Regions from separate parts of the Homo sapiens genome. Here region 2 is linked to region 1. The links are contacts of gene promoters, found by promoter capture Hi-C in human tissues and cell types (Jung and others, 2019). All regions are on one chromosome and are shown on one strand. The core of a region is centred on a gene start or on the middle of the fragment in contact, and the rest is flanking DNA. Distances in the headings are between cores, read along the strand shown. Region 1 holds the start of TSPAN13 (tetraspanin 13). Region 2 overlaps AGR3 (anterior gradient 3, protein disulphide isomerase family member).

What was found. The method cuts DNA at HindIII sites, captures the fragments that hold promoters and counts their contacts. A contact is called where the count stands out against the background at its distance.
Region 2: a contact is called between a fragment that was not itself captured here and the fragment with the promoter of TSPAN13 in region 1, in 4 of the 25 tissues and cell types used here (H1 embryonic stem cells, IMR-90 fibroblasts, aorta and 1 more).

The regions. Positions count from the first base shown.
Region 1 is chr7:16,750,506-16,756,934 of GRCh38, forward strand. TSPAN13 (tetraspanin 13) reads left to right here and starts at 3,250. Exons shown (of 6, transcript NM_014399.4): 1 at 3,250-3,525. The coding sequence starts at 3,463. RefSeq lists a silencer at 5,839-6,133. The HindIII fragment of the contact is 15,712 bases long and covers 1-5,492 here.
Region 2 is chr7:16,864,658-16,870,328 of GRCh38, forward strand. The region is part of intron 3 of AGR3 (anterior gradient 3, protein disulphide isomerase family member); the gene reads right to left. It also overlaps the pseudogene RAD17P1. Among named protein-coding and RNA genes, the nearest start is that of AGR3, 14 kb to the right of the region's middle. The HindIII fragment of the contact is 5,002 bases long and covers 263-5,264 here.

The DNA of each region.
Region 1 (6,429 bases), core at 2,000-4,499:
TGATGAGTTTATCAAGGGTTTCTGCTTTTACTTCTTCCTCATTTTTCTCTTGCCACCACTATGTAAGAAGTGCCTTTCGCCTCCCACCATGATTCTGAGGCCTCCCCAGCCATGTGGAAATATAAGTCCAATTAAACCTCTTTTTCTGCCCAGTTTCAGGTACGTCTTTATCAGCAGCATGAAAACGAACTAATGCAGCAATCTTGCCTGACCACGGCCTTTGTAGCTTATATGTCTTGTTTTAAAAGAAAGCCCATGGGTTAGAGCTGGCAAATAGTTGCAGTCATTCTGTAGCTGGGGCTCTGGATTATAAACTGTCACATAGTCCAGGTAGGGGCAGTAGAAGATGGTTAAATAGTCATTTAGTTTCTCCTTATCCCTCTCAAAGGTAGTTTCTCCCTTCCACAGCCAGTCTATAAGAGATGAAAGTGACTATGAGTTTTTTTCCCCCTCTAATAATGTCTCATCACTTCTTGGATTTTAGTTCCTCTAGTGCCTTTAGCCCCTCAGTTCTTCGATAGTTTTTTGTTGTAAGTATGATTTGGTAGCTTATCTAGCTTGTTTTTACTTACTTTGAGACAGGGTCTTGGTCTGCACCCAGGCTGGAGTGCTGTGGCGCCATCATAGCTGACTGCAGCCTTGATCTCCTGGGCTCCAGCAATCCTTCCCCCTCAGGCTCCTGAGTAGCTGGGATAGCTGGGATTACAGGTATGCACCACCACACCCAGCTAATATTTTCAATTTTTAGTAGAGATGGGGTCTCACTATGTTGTCCAGACTGCTTGTTCTTATTAGGGTGGGAACAAATGGTCTTTTGAAAATTTCTATATCCAAATCAGGAGAAATTGCAACATGTCCATTTGTTTTCCTATTTTCAGACATTGTTTTGTTTCCTCTATCAAAAGCCGTATCTCCTATCAGACAACTCTCCTACAACTATAGCTCTTGCCTGGCTTCTGTAACTGTTCCCTTAAATCACCCCCTTAGTCTTAGGGGTAATTAGAACTTCCTGCTCTTACTATCTCTGAGCTGCCTCATCATGCTTTGTTGGTTTCCTTTTCTTTTTGAGACAGAATTTCACTCTGTCACCCAGGCTGGAGAGCAGTGGCGCGATCTTGGCTCACTGCAACCTCCACCTCCTGGGTTCAAGTGATTCTCCTGCCTCAGCCTCCCAAGTAGCTGGGATTACAGGTGCCCGCTACCACGCCTGGCTAATTTTTGTAGTTTTAGTAGAGACGGGGTTTCACCATGTTGGTCAGTCTGGTCTCAAACTCCTGACCTCAGGTGATCCACTACCCTCGGCCTCCCAAAGTGCTGGGATTACAGGTGTGAGCCACCGCACCCAGCCGGTTTCCTTTAACTTTGTCCACACTTTTGAAAATAGTCCCTTTTTGAAATTCTTCTCAGTTATGCTATTTGAACGAGTCATCTCCTTTTTGCTGGGACCCTGACTGATAGGTGGTACTTCTCTGGGAAAACAAAGTGATTCAGCCTATAGGGAGATAGTGAAGATATTATGCAGAAGCCAAAGAGAGAGTTGCAATAGTTGGTTGAGTGATAGTTGAAGTGGTACTAATGTTGGTGACACCCAGGAATGGGAAGAGAATGAATAGATTTCCCTGCCAATGCCTCATCTTTTGTAAACCTCTGGCTATTAAAAAGGAAAGTTGAGCATCATCAAAGCATTGTTTGTGTTTGAGGATCATTTTCCAGGTTAGTTTTTGAAATATTTCTAGCTGTATATAAAAGGTTAATGTGGAATAGAAAGCCTAACAAATTAATGAGGTCTTGTTGGTATGGTGGGGTCAGGGGAGGGAAGGAGAGGCTGGAAGAGGGAGCAGAGAATTCTAAGAAGACGAATTATTTTAATCAGCTGCAATGTTTAATTTAATTTAATACAATTTAGCATTTGCAATTACATAATTTACTCCGTATGAACCTTTAGGTTAGATATAGTATTGTAAACTTGCAAATCTCTTTATAAAACCTTTTTCTTTGGTAGAAACTACTATGAAGTAAATAAACCTTTATTGCCTTCGCTTAGTGCCTGGAACACAGTAGGCCTTTACAAAATGTCAGATCTATGAATACTAGCTGACATTTATTGAGGCCTTCCCCTGTGCCAGCCACTATGCAAAAAGTGCTTGACATACTTCTAAAATCTCAATTTATAGGTGAGGAATTAAGGATACAAGATGCATTTCTATAGTAGAGAAGCAGTAAACTGATAATGAATTAATTGAGGTGAAGTCTGAGTTATTTGAAGATTTTCAGTTATTTTTGTGAAAAAATAAGTTTATTGAAATTCACGACCAGAACACAAAAATAATCTCTCTTGATTTTCTTTTTAAAATTTTTTAAAAAACTTTTGTTGACACGTAGCAGATGTATATATTTACGGGGTACATGAGATGTTTTGATACAGGCATGCAATGTGAAATAAGCACATCACGGAGAATAGGGTATCCATCCTCTGAAACATTTATCCTTTGAGTTACAAACAATCCAATTACATTCTTTAAGTTATTTTAAAATACACAATTAAGTTCTTATTAACGATTGTCACTTTATTGTGCTATCAAATAGTAGGTCTTATTCATTCTTTCTATTTTTTTGGACCTATTAACCATCCCCACCTTCTCCCGCTCTTGATTTTCCTTTGCATGCATGTATTCATAAAGTTTATTAGTATTTTGCAAATCTTTGTAGGATAAGTCTGACCTGTCCAGGTCACAATTATAGGGCACATATCTTATTTTCTGAGAGAAGCAGGGATTTTATTTTATTTTTTATTGTTTCACTTATTTTCTCCCTTTCATTTGCCTCTACTTCGTTCTCTTTTAAATCTTTCACATGTTTTCATTCATTACTTGCTTCCTGCCTTCCTTCCCTCAAACAAGGCCAGGTGCTTAGTTTTGAAATCTCATTCAAAATGGTGCCACGTCATCTGCCAGGGCCAAGAATCCAGAGGTGCTGTCATATTTCTCCTTGCCAGCGTGGATCTCCTCCGAGCCCCGCCCTCCCTCCTCACCTGCTCCTGGGGAAACTACACCAAGGCCGCCGCTCTGGCCTGGGGCTCCCTCCCACACGGCCTTGGCCCTCTCCCCCTCGCCCCGGGACCGCTCCGCCCCTCCCGGATCCCGGTCGGCGGAGCGCATTTATTTGCATATTTCTACCTTTGTTCCCTGCCAGCGGCCAATCAGCGCGCGGGGCGAGACGAAGGGGCTGGGCGGGGCTCGGGCTCCTGCTCCGGCTCAGCTGCGGCGGCCGCAGGTTCCAAAGCGGGTCCGAGCCGCCGCCGCGCGCGCGCCGCGCACTGCAGCCCCAGGCCCCGGCCCCCCACCCACGTCTGCGTTGCTGCCCCGCCTGGGCCAGGCCCCAAAGGCAAGGACAAAGCAGCTGTCAGGGAACCTCCGCCGGAGTCGAATTTACGTGCAGCTGCCGGCAACCACAGGTTCCAAGATGGTTTGCGGGGGCTTCGCGTGTTCCAAGAACTGCCTGTGCGCCCTCAACCTGCTTTACACCGTGAGTATCCCCAGTCCGTTCCTGCTCGCTTGGGGGCTTTGCACCTGCTTGGGAGCTCTTTGGCTTCCCTGCCTGGTCAGCGACTCACTCGTTGCATCCCGCGCCCCCTTCCCGGCTTCCCACGTCTGCGCGCCCCCGGCCTCACCATCCGTCCCCGCCGGGGACCGGGCGCCGGCGCTTGTCGCAGTCTCTTCCTTTCGTTCATTGTGAAGCCGCGGTCTCTCAGGCTCGCTGGCCGCGTCTCTGCCACATTGCTCCACCCCGCCCCCTCACCCACCGCCTTGTTTTTCAAACATTCAACCGGACCTCTCCGCTTTCCCACCCCGTACCCTTCTGCCGCTCGCTCCTGACATCCAGACGCATCTGGGCCAGGCGTGGAGGCGCGAGAGCCGTCAGGGCTTGCGGACAGTTTTGCGGAATGGCGTGGCCTGAAACTGACGAGGCGGCATATGGCTGGTGTGCCTCTGGGTTAGCTCTTGGTACCCTCGGGATTTTAATTGAGGCCACTGAGTAGGTTCACAGGATGTCCGCTGCTTCCGAAGTTTGTTTCGTGCTCACAGTAAAGGGATGTCTTTTTGTTTTTGTTGTTGTCAGTTTTGCTAGTACTTGGTGCTTTTTCTGTGTGTCTTGTCCATGATCAATATCCTAACTCCATTTTAAACCAAGTCCTCCAGGAAATAAGCGAGCCCCCACCCAAGTCGTTTCTTTCCCTGCCAACCAGCTTGGGCCTCTTAGTTTTAACGCTGCAGGCTCTCTTTGTGATTTTTTGAGGCGCAATTCTGGGTGAACAGGAGGATGGGCAGGACAGATCGACATTTATTGAATGCCTATCACGTCCCAGGTTTTACATACACAATGCTCGTTCATCATTCTGACAACCTTCTGAGGGAATGGGGCATTATCTGCATTTTATACATAAGGTAACAGACCAAAAAGGTTTTAGTAAGTTTACATAGCTGGTAGTTGACGAGTCAGGAGTGGAACCTAGGCTGTGGAATCCAGATCTTTCCACAGGCTGTCTCTACCGGGCGGAAGAAACTTCCTCTTCTGTCATCATCCCTCCATAGTAGTCTTGCTCCCTTCTATAAATATACCTGGCGCTTTGCAGCACCCACCCTGAAAACAAACCCAGCACCCCTGCATTAGCAGAGAGCTAGGCCATCTGTGCAAGCTTAGATTACCTCCTTGGAATAGAGAGGCTGCCTTGTGGTCACCAACAGGAGAAGGAGGTTGGGTCATTTTACCTTTACTGTTCCTTTGTATGTGAACATGACTGCAAGCTTTGAAGGCAAGACAGAAACAGGCATTGAGTACGCTTTTATGGCTAGTTAGTAAGAATCTGGTCAACATGGTCATTAATAGTAGACTTGGGAAAAAAATTTTAGAACACCTGGTGATACAGTTCCTTGGAGATACATGTCAAGTTTCAGATCAAAATTCATCTGTATCACCCTGAGGTATGCTTATCACCCTGGCTGTTTATTAAGTAAATGCTGACCAGTTCTCTAGGGTTTTTTTTTTTTTTTTTAAATCAGTGTGAGTGGCCTGCTTGGAACTTTAAATTCCTTATTTTGTGACCTGAGTTCTGTTTTTTTTCTGCCAATGATTTAGTCATCTGTTTGCCAGACACTTAGTCTTACAGTGCCTGCTTACACAGAGTGGAATGTCTACTTTGCATACTTACTTCACTGAAGGGTCTATATCAATGTATAATCTTTTTTAAAAAGGCAAGTTATTTTAAAATGAAGTTCCTTGCTTTCTAGACATCATTTTTAGTTGTATTTAGAGTATATCAGGAAAGTGAGGCGAAAGAAAGGTGATTCTAAAGGGACATATTAAGACTATTTAATATCTATTCTAAATTATTGACCTTCAAAGTGTGTGTTCTATTGATTTTAATAGCTATGCAGTAAAACTTAATGAATTGGAAATTCACGGGACAATAAAAATGGCTAGCCCTTTTAAATCATAGACTTTTTAGACAAAGGGACATTTCTTAAAATGAATTAGTGGCTGCTTGCTTCTTTTACATTGTAAATAGGCTTAAATAACTGCAGCAGTTTAAAGTGGAGGCAAGTGACAGGTAAAAGTTGGATCAAGTCTTAGATAGATGCTGAAAATGTGCCATGGCCATTATTTAGCTTCTATTTCTCCCCTGATCTCTTTCTCAACATTTTAAGATGAAAAAAATGTGAGGCAGTTGGGGATGGGATTGAGCATGAAGACTTGGGAGACATTTCTCTATAAGTCATGAATAGAAACATTCTTTGTAGGTTCTAATCCCACCCTGGTCACTGCCTCTAAAATGTGCTCAACGCTACAGGATTACATTTGAGGTCATTTCTAAAAGTGTTGGTTAAACCAGGATTGCATATGGGAACGGCAGATGCCTGAAACATCATCATTGCTGTGTTGAAGCATTTTACTGAGGAACTTAGGACTGTATCAGCTGAACTGTCCACATGCTCTGGTGGCTTGCTGATGAGCCTGAGATTCGTGCCACATTCATGATCAGCTCAGAAAGCATGTCACTAAAAACAAGTTGGAAGTCCCAAACAAGGAAATTTGATCACTAGGCAAAATGTTAACAGTTGATTTTTCTTGTTGTTTATGGCTTGATTATTTTAGTTAATAGGATCGCCAGTACTGGACAAGCTTAAATTAGTGTAGTATGTGTTAACAGTTTGTAAATATAGAAGAAAAGGGGGAAGCTACATTCCTGAATTCACCTTCACAGTATTCTAAGAGAATGACTTGCCTCAGAGCTTCCTGCATTTAAAGAAACTTTCAGTTTCTTCATTCAACAATTATTGAGTGCCTACTGTGTGCCAGGCTCTGTTCTCAGTTTGGAAATACAGCAGCAAACCAAACAGGGCGTAAAAATCAATGTGCTTTTATGAAGGC
Region 2 (5,671 bases), core at 1,514-4,013, 110 kb after region 1:
CAGAAGTCAGGAAAAAGTGCTTTTGCTGCCAGGCAATTTTCCCCATACTTTTTATGTATTAGAAACCACTGCGGTGTGTGCGAGGGTCAAAAACTTGATCCTTCTCCTTGGCAATGAGCATATCCTCCGGCTTTGTTGGAATGTATCACACCTCTTGTAGCTATAGATGTCCTATATTTCCTGAGTAAAGAGCGTGTATTCCAGTCACCACTGAGGATACCTGCAAAACTTAGAAATTCACTGGCTCTCACAATATCATCAATTTCCATGAAGAAGTCTATGTAGTTTTGGTGAAGATATAAATTAAATAAGTCTCCTGGCATGTGTGACATTTCTACTACCTCCTCAGGTTCAACAAGTATGTATCCTGTTCATATTCTGATAAATGAGAGGGCAACCAAGATGAGTCTGATTCTGTTAAAGATGCTCTTTTACTGTATAAAATTTTCCCCAAAGCTCGGAAGAGAAACAGAGAAACGTCTTTGCCACCAGTAGCTTGGACCTCTTGACTTTCAAAAACCCTATCAGTTTTTTTTCTTTGTTTTGATTTTGACAGCGTAGCATTTGATTTTAAAGACATTCTTTTTTTCCTTGGCCATAAGTTGTTTTCTCCTTTTGAAGAAGAAATCTGGAGGCTGTTTATTGCACTTCTCATATCACCAGAACATCCTTGACAGAGCACCTCTAGAGAAGTTTTGTCAGGGACAGTAATTTTTCCTCCATTCTTGTTAGCCTCTATAGTCACTATTCGATTAAGAAATTTCATCGTAATTGTTGGTGCCACAGGGTTGAAACTAATATTTGAGGTAGAATGCTCTTCCCGAATTTCTTTGGGGAACAAGAAACTTTGATTATTTTTACCACTGAGACTGTCACAGATTATAAATATAAAAGGATATCGACCAATCTTCACATACTTCCTTAGAACTTCATGTAAAGTATGAGAATCCCTATAAACTGGTTAGGTAAATCTTCAACCAGAATTATCTTCTTATCAGTTCTCAGATGATCTCCAAGCATTTGTAACTTGTTATACTTTGTTGCTCTTAGTAGAAACTCTTTGCAAACTGCTATCTGAGACTGATAGGGAAACATATGGAAGCTTGATTCAGTATGAAACATTTCCTTGAAATCATCTTTTTGGAAATCTGGTAAAACTGGATTAATCCACTCTTGTACTTGAATACCATTCTCCTTTGATAGCGTTTTTTTGGTCGTTGTCTTTCCACATCCAGGAGGACCTGTTATTAATAAAATAGATCCATCCTGTTTTGGTTGCCTTTCTAAGACTTGAGCTTTTTACCAGGTTTCAACTTCTTCAATTATCTTTTCATGCACAGCCAAGTTCATGCTAACTTTCTGGTTTATATTTATCTACCCATGGTTCATTTTCAGACAGATAGTCTTTTGAATTTTCTAAACCATATATCTGTTCTAAGGAAGACAGATTTCCTATTTTTCTAGCTGGAAATATCTTACTTTCTAATGTAGAAGGCTCATTTTTTTCTCTATGACTTGAGTTATTCACACCTAATGATGTGGCAGTAATAGTAGAGATGTCTCTATACTCTAGAAAATCATTGAATGATGGGTCAATCCAGTCTGTTACCTTTGTGGAAGATATCTTTGGTCTAAGAAAAGTTTTTGACATTATAAACTGTAATAGTTCCCATCCATAGTATAGGACCTGTAGTACATTAAACTATAATTCACCTCCTTTAAAAAGCAGGTAACTGTCCCTGAAGATGCCAGGTTCCTGAAATGAGAGACCATGCTGTTGTTTTAAAAAATGATTTTGCACATAGGTGGGTATGTTTGTGAATACATTTCCAGAAGTAGAATTTCTGAGTCAGAGTGTGTGCATTTATAATTCTGATATATACTCTCCATAGAAGCTGTACCAATTCATATTCTCTCTGGTAGTGTGAGCAGTAATTGTTTTTGCTATTCTCACTAAAGCTGGTTATTAGTTTAAATTTTTTTTATCCAACAGGTGAAAAGAGGGAAACGAATGTGGTTTGTCTTTCTTATAAAAAATAGTCAATCTTATATGTTTGAGTTACTTATTTTTCTGTTCTGTGAACTTCCATATTCTTTGCTCATTTTTTTCTGTTGACTTGTTGACCTTTTTCTTGTTAATATATAGGAGTACGTTGTATATTAGAGAAAGTCACCCTTCTAATATGTGCTGCAGTTTTCCATTTAAAAGAATATTTTTCCTTTGTAAGTTTTTGGTTATCCAGAAAATTCCGTGTAATTGAAAATATTAGTAATTTCTTTTTAGACTTTTTCTTTTATCTTCTCCTTTTCTTTGTTTGGCTATGCTCAAGCCTAGCAGACAGCACTAGCATGAGGCCAGGGGAGCATCTACAGGACTAAAATTAGAGGCTTTATTTTTGTACCCCAGGTATCTTTCTTGCCTCACTATAATCTTGGCTCTCCCCTATTCCAAGCATTTAAAGAAATAAAATTTTGCAGTGGTATCTTCTAGCACCTTAATGATTTAATTTTCATAATTATATCTTTCTAATTTATTTTTGCATAAATGTGAGATATGGATACAAATTTATTTGTTTTTCCCAGATGACTATCAACTTCTGACACTAATTATTACATAATCTGTCTCCCCTATTCCTGATTTAAAATACCACTTCCTGTATTAAAAAATTCCTGTAGTATCTATCTATCTATGGAGTTTGTCAACTACCTATCAATAATCTATTTATTTATTTGACAAGTAAAAGTTGTATATATTTATGGTGTACAGTATGCTGTTTTGATATATGGATATGTTGTACAGTGGCTAAATCAAGCTATTTAACATATTCATCATCTCACATACTTATTTTTTGTGGTGAGAATATTTAAAATTTACTGTCAGCAATTTTCATGTATAAAATATATTGTTATTAACTATTATTCCCACAATGTACAACAGATCTCTTCAATTTATTTCACTTAACTGAAATGTGTGTCCTTTGAGCAAGAACTCCCCATCCTCACCCCCAGACTTTAGTAACCACCATTTTCCTTTGTTTCTATGAGTTTGACTTTTTTAGATTACACATGTGAGATTACGTGACATTTGTCTTTCTGTATCTGGCTTGTTTCACTCACCATAATGTTCTCCAGGTTCTTCTATGTTGTTGCAAATGACAGTGAACATGGGAGTGCAGATATCTCTTAGACATACCGATTTTATCTTTTTGATACATGCCCAGCAGGGAATTGCTGGATCATATGGTAGTTCTATTTTTAATTTTTTTGAGTAATCTCTATACATTATGCTTTCCATAATGGCTGTACTAATTTACATTCCCACCAACAGTGTAAAAGGGTTCTCTTTTCTCCACATTCTTGCCAACACTTGCTATTATTCATCTTTTTGATAATAGCCTTTCTAAAAGGAGTGAGGTGGTATTTCATTGTGGTATTAATTTGCATTTCCCTGATGATTAGTGATGTTAAGTATTGTTTTCATCTACCTGTTGGCCCTTTGTATGTCTTTTTTTTTTGAGATGGAGTTTCGCTCTTGTTGCCCAGGCTGGAGTGCAATGGTGCGATCTCGGCTCACCACAACCTCCGCCTCCCAGGTTCAAGTGATTGTCCTGCCTCAGACTCCCGAGTAGCTGGGATTAAAGGCATGCACCACTATGCCTGGCTAATTTTGTATTTTTAGTAGAGATGGGGTTTCTCCATGTTGGTCAGGCTAGTCTCGAACTCCCGACCTCAAGTGATCTGCCCACCTTGGCCTCCCAAAGTGCTGGGATTACAGGTATGAGCCACGGCGCCCAGCCTGTATGTCTTCTTTTAAGAAATGTCTATTTAGGTCTTTTGTCCATTTTTAAAACACAAATTCCATTTTTGTTTTGTTATTGAGTTTCTTGCATATTTGCTTCTTTTCAGATGTATGGCTTTCATATATTGTCTTCTATTCTGTTGGTTATTTCTTCACTCTGTTATTGTCTCCTTTGCTGTACAGAAGCTTTTTAGTTTGATGTAATCTCACTTGCCTATTTTTGCTTTTGTTTCTCATGTTTTTGAGGTCATATGAAAAAAAATCATTGCCCAGACTAATGTCTGGGTATATAGAATGATTTTTAAATACCGCTTTAATTTTAAGTGGATTGTGAGCATCAAAGGAGATAGGCTCTTTGGATAGCTATTCAGGATTTCCTTCATTTCAATGGCTGAATAGTATTTTATTGTGTACATATACCATATTTTATCAATTCATCTGTTGATGGTCAGAAAAGATAGTTGATATAATTTAAGTCTTCTTAAATTTGTTAGACTTGTTTCATGTGTCATGTGATCTGTTCTAAAAAATAATTCCTACGCTATGAGAACGTATCTTCTCTTGCTGTTTGATTAAATGCTCTGTATATGTTTGTTAGGTCCATTTGGTCTAAAGTGTAGTTCAAGTCCAATGTTTCCTTATTGACTTTTTGGATGATCTATTCATTGTTGAAAGTGGGGTGTTGAAGTCCCTTACTATTATTGTGTTGTAATCTATTCCTCTTTTCAGATCTATTAACATCTGCTTTATGTATTTAGGTACTGTGATGTTGGATGAACATATATTTATAATTGTTATACCTTCTTGGTAAATTAATCTCTGTGTTATTATATAATGACCTTCTTTGTTTCTGTTTACATTTTTTGATTTAAAGTCTGTTTTATCTAAGTATAGCTACTTTGTTTTGTTTTGTTTTGTTTCCATTTATATAGTATATATTTTTTGATCCTTTCAATTGCAGTTAATAAACATCCTTCAAGGTGAAGTGAGGCCTGGCATGGTGGCTCATGCCTGTAATCCCAGCACTTTGGGAGGCCAAGGTAGGAGGATTGCTTGAGCTTAGGAGTTTGAGACTAGTCTGGGCAACATGATGAAACCCTGTCTCTACCAAAAGTACAAAAATTGGCCCATGTGGTGGCACACATTTGTAGTCCTAGCCACTTGAAAGGCTGAGGCAGGAGGATCGCTTGAGCCTATAGTTGGGGCTTGTGAGTTTGTTTTTTTTTTTTTTTTTTTTTGCAGGGGGCAGGGGGAACCTGTTTTTTAATCCATTGAGTCACTCTATGTCTTTTGATTGGAGGTCCAAATCCATTTACATTCAAAGTTTTATTTCTATACTTTTATTATATTTTATTTATTTACAAGTAATATACTGTTTATTATTGCTTTGTAAAATGTTTAATAATGATTAAGGCCTAATCCCTATTGCTCTCTTTTCAGAATGTTCCTAACTATCCTAACTACTCATGTCTATTATTTTTTCATTTCAACTTTAGAATTATCTTTTTAAAAAATCTTATCACAATTTATTGTGATCATCTTAAAAAGTTTTTTAAGTATAGAGAGAATTGGCATTTTTATGATGTTAAGTCTTTCTATCCAAGAATATAATATGCACTGCCATTGGTTTGGAAATTTCTTTTTTCTTTTCAGTGTATTTAGGTTCTTATAGATTTTGCATATCTTCTGTCAAGTTTATTCTGGGGTATTTTCTTTTTTGTCATTGTAAATGAGGTATTTAACAAGTTTTTTTGGATGTGTTTTTCTATATATAAATGCAGTCAATTTTTAAATATCAATTTATTCTCATCTAATTCAACAGAATTTTTGTTATTCTGAATATTTAAATTTTTTTAGTTTTTCACGTATATA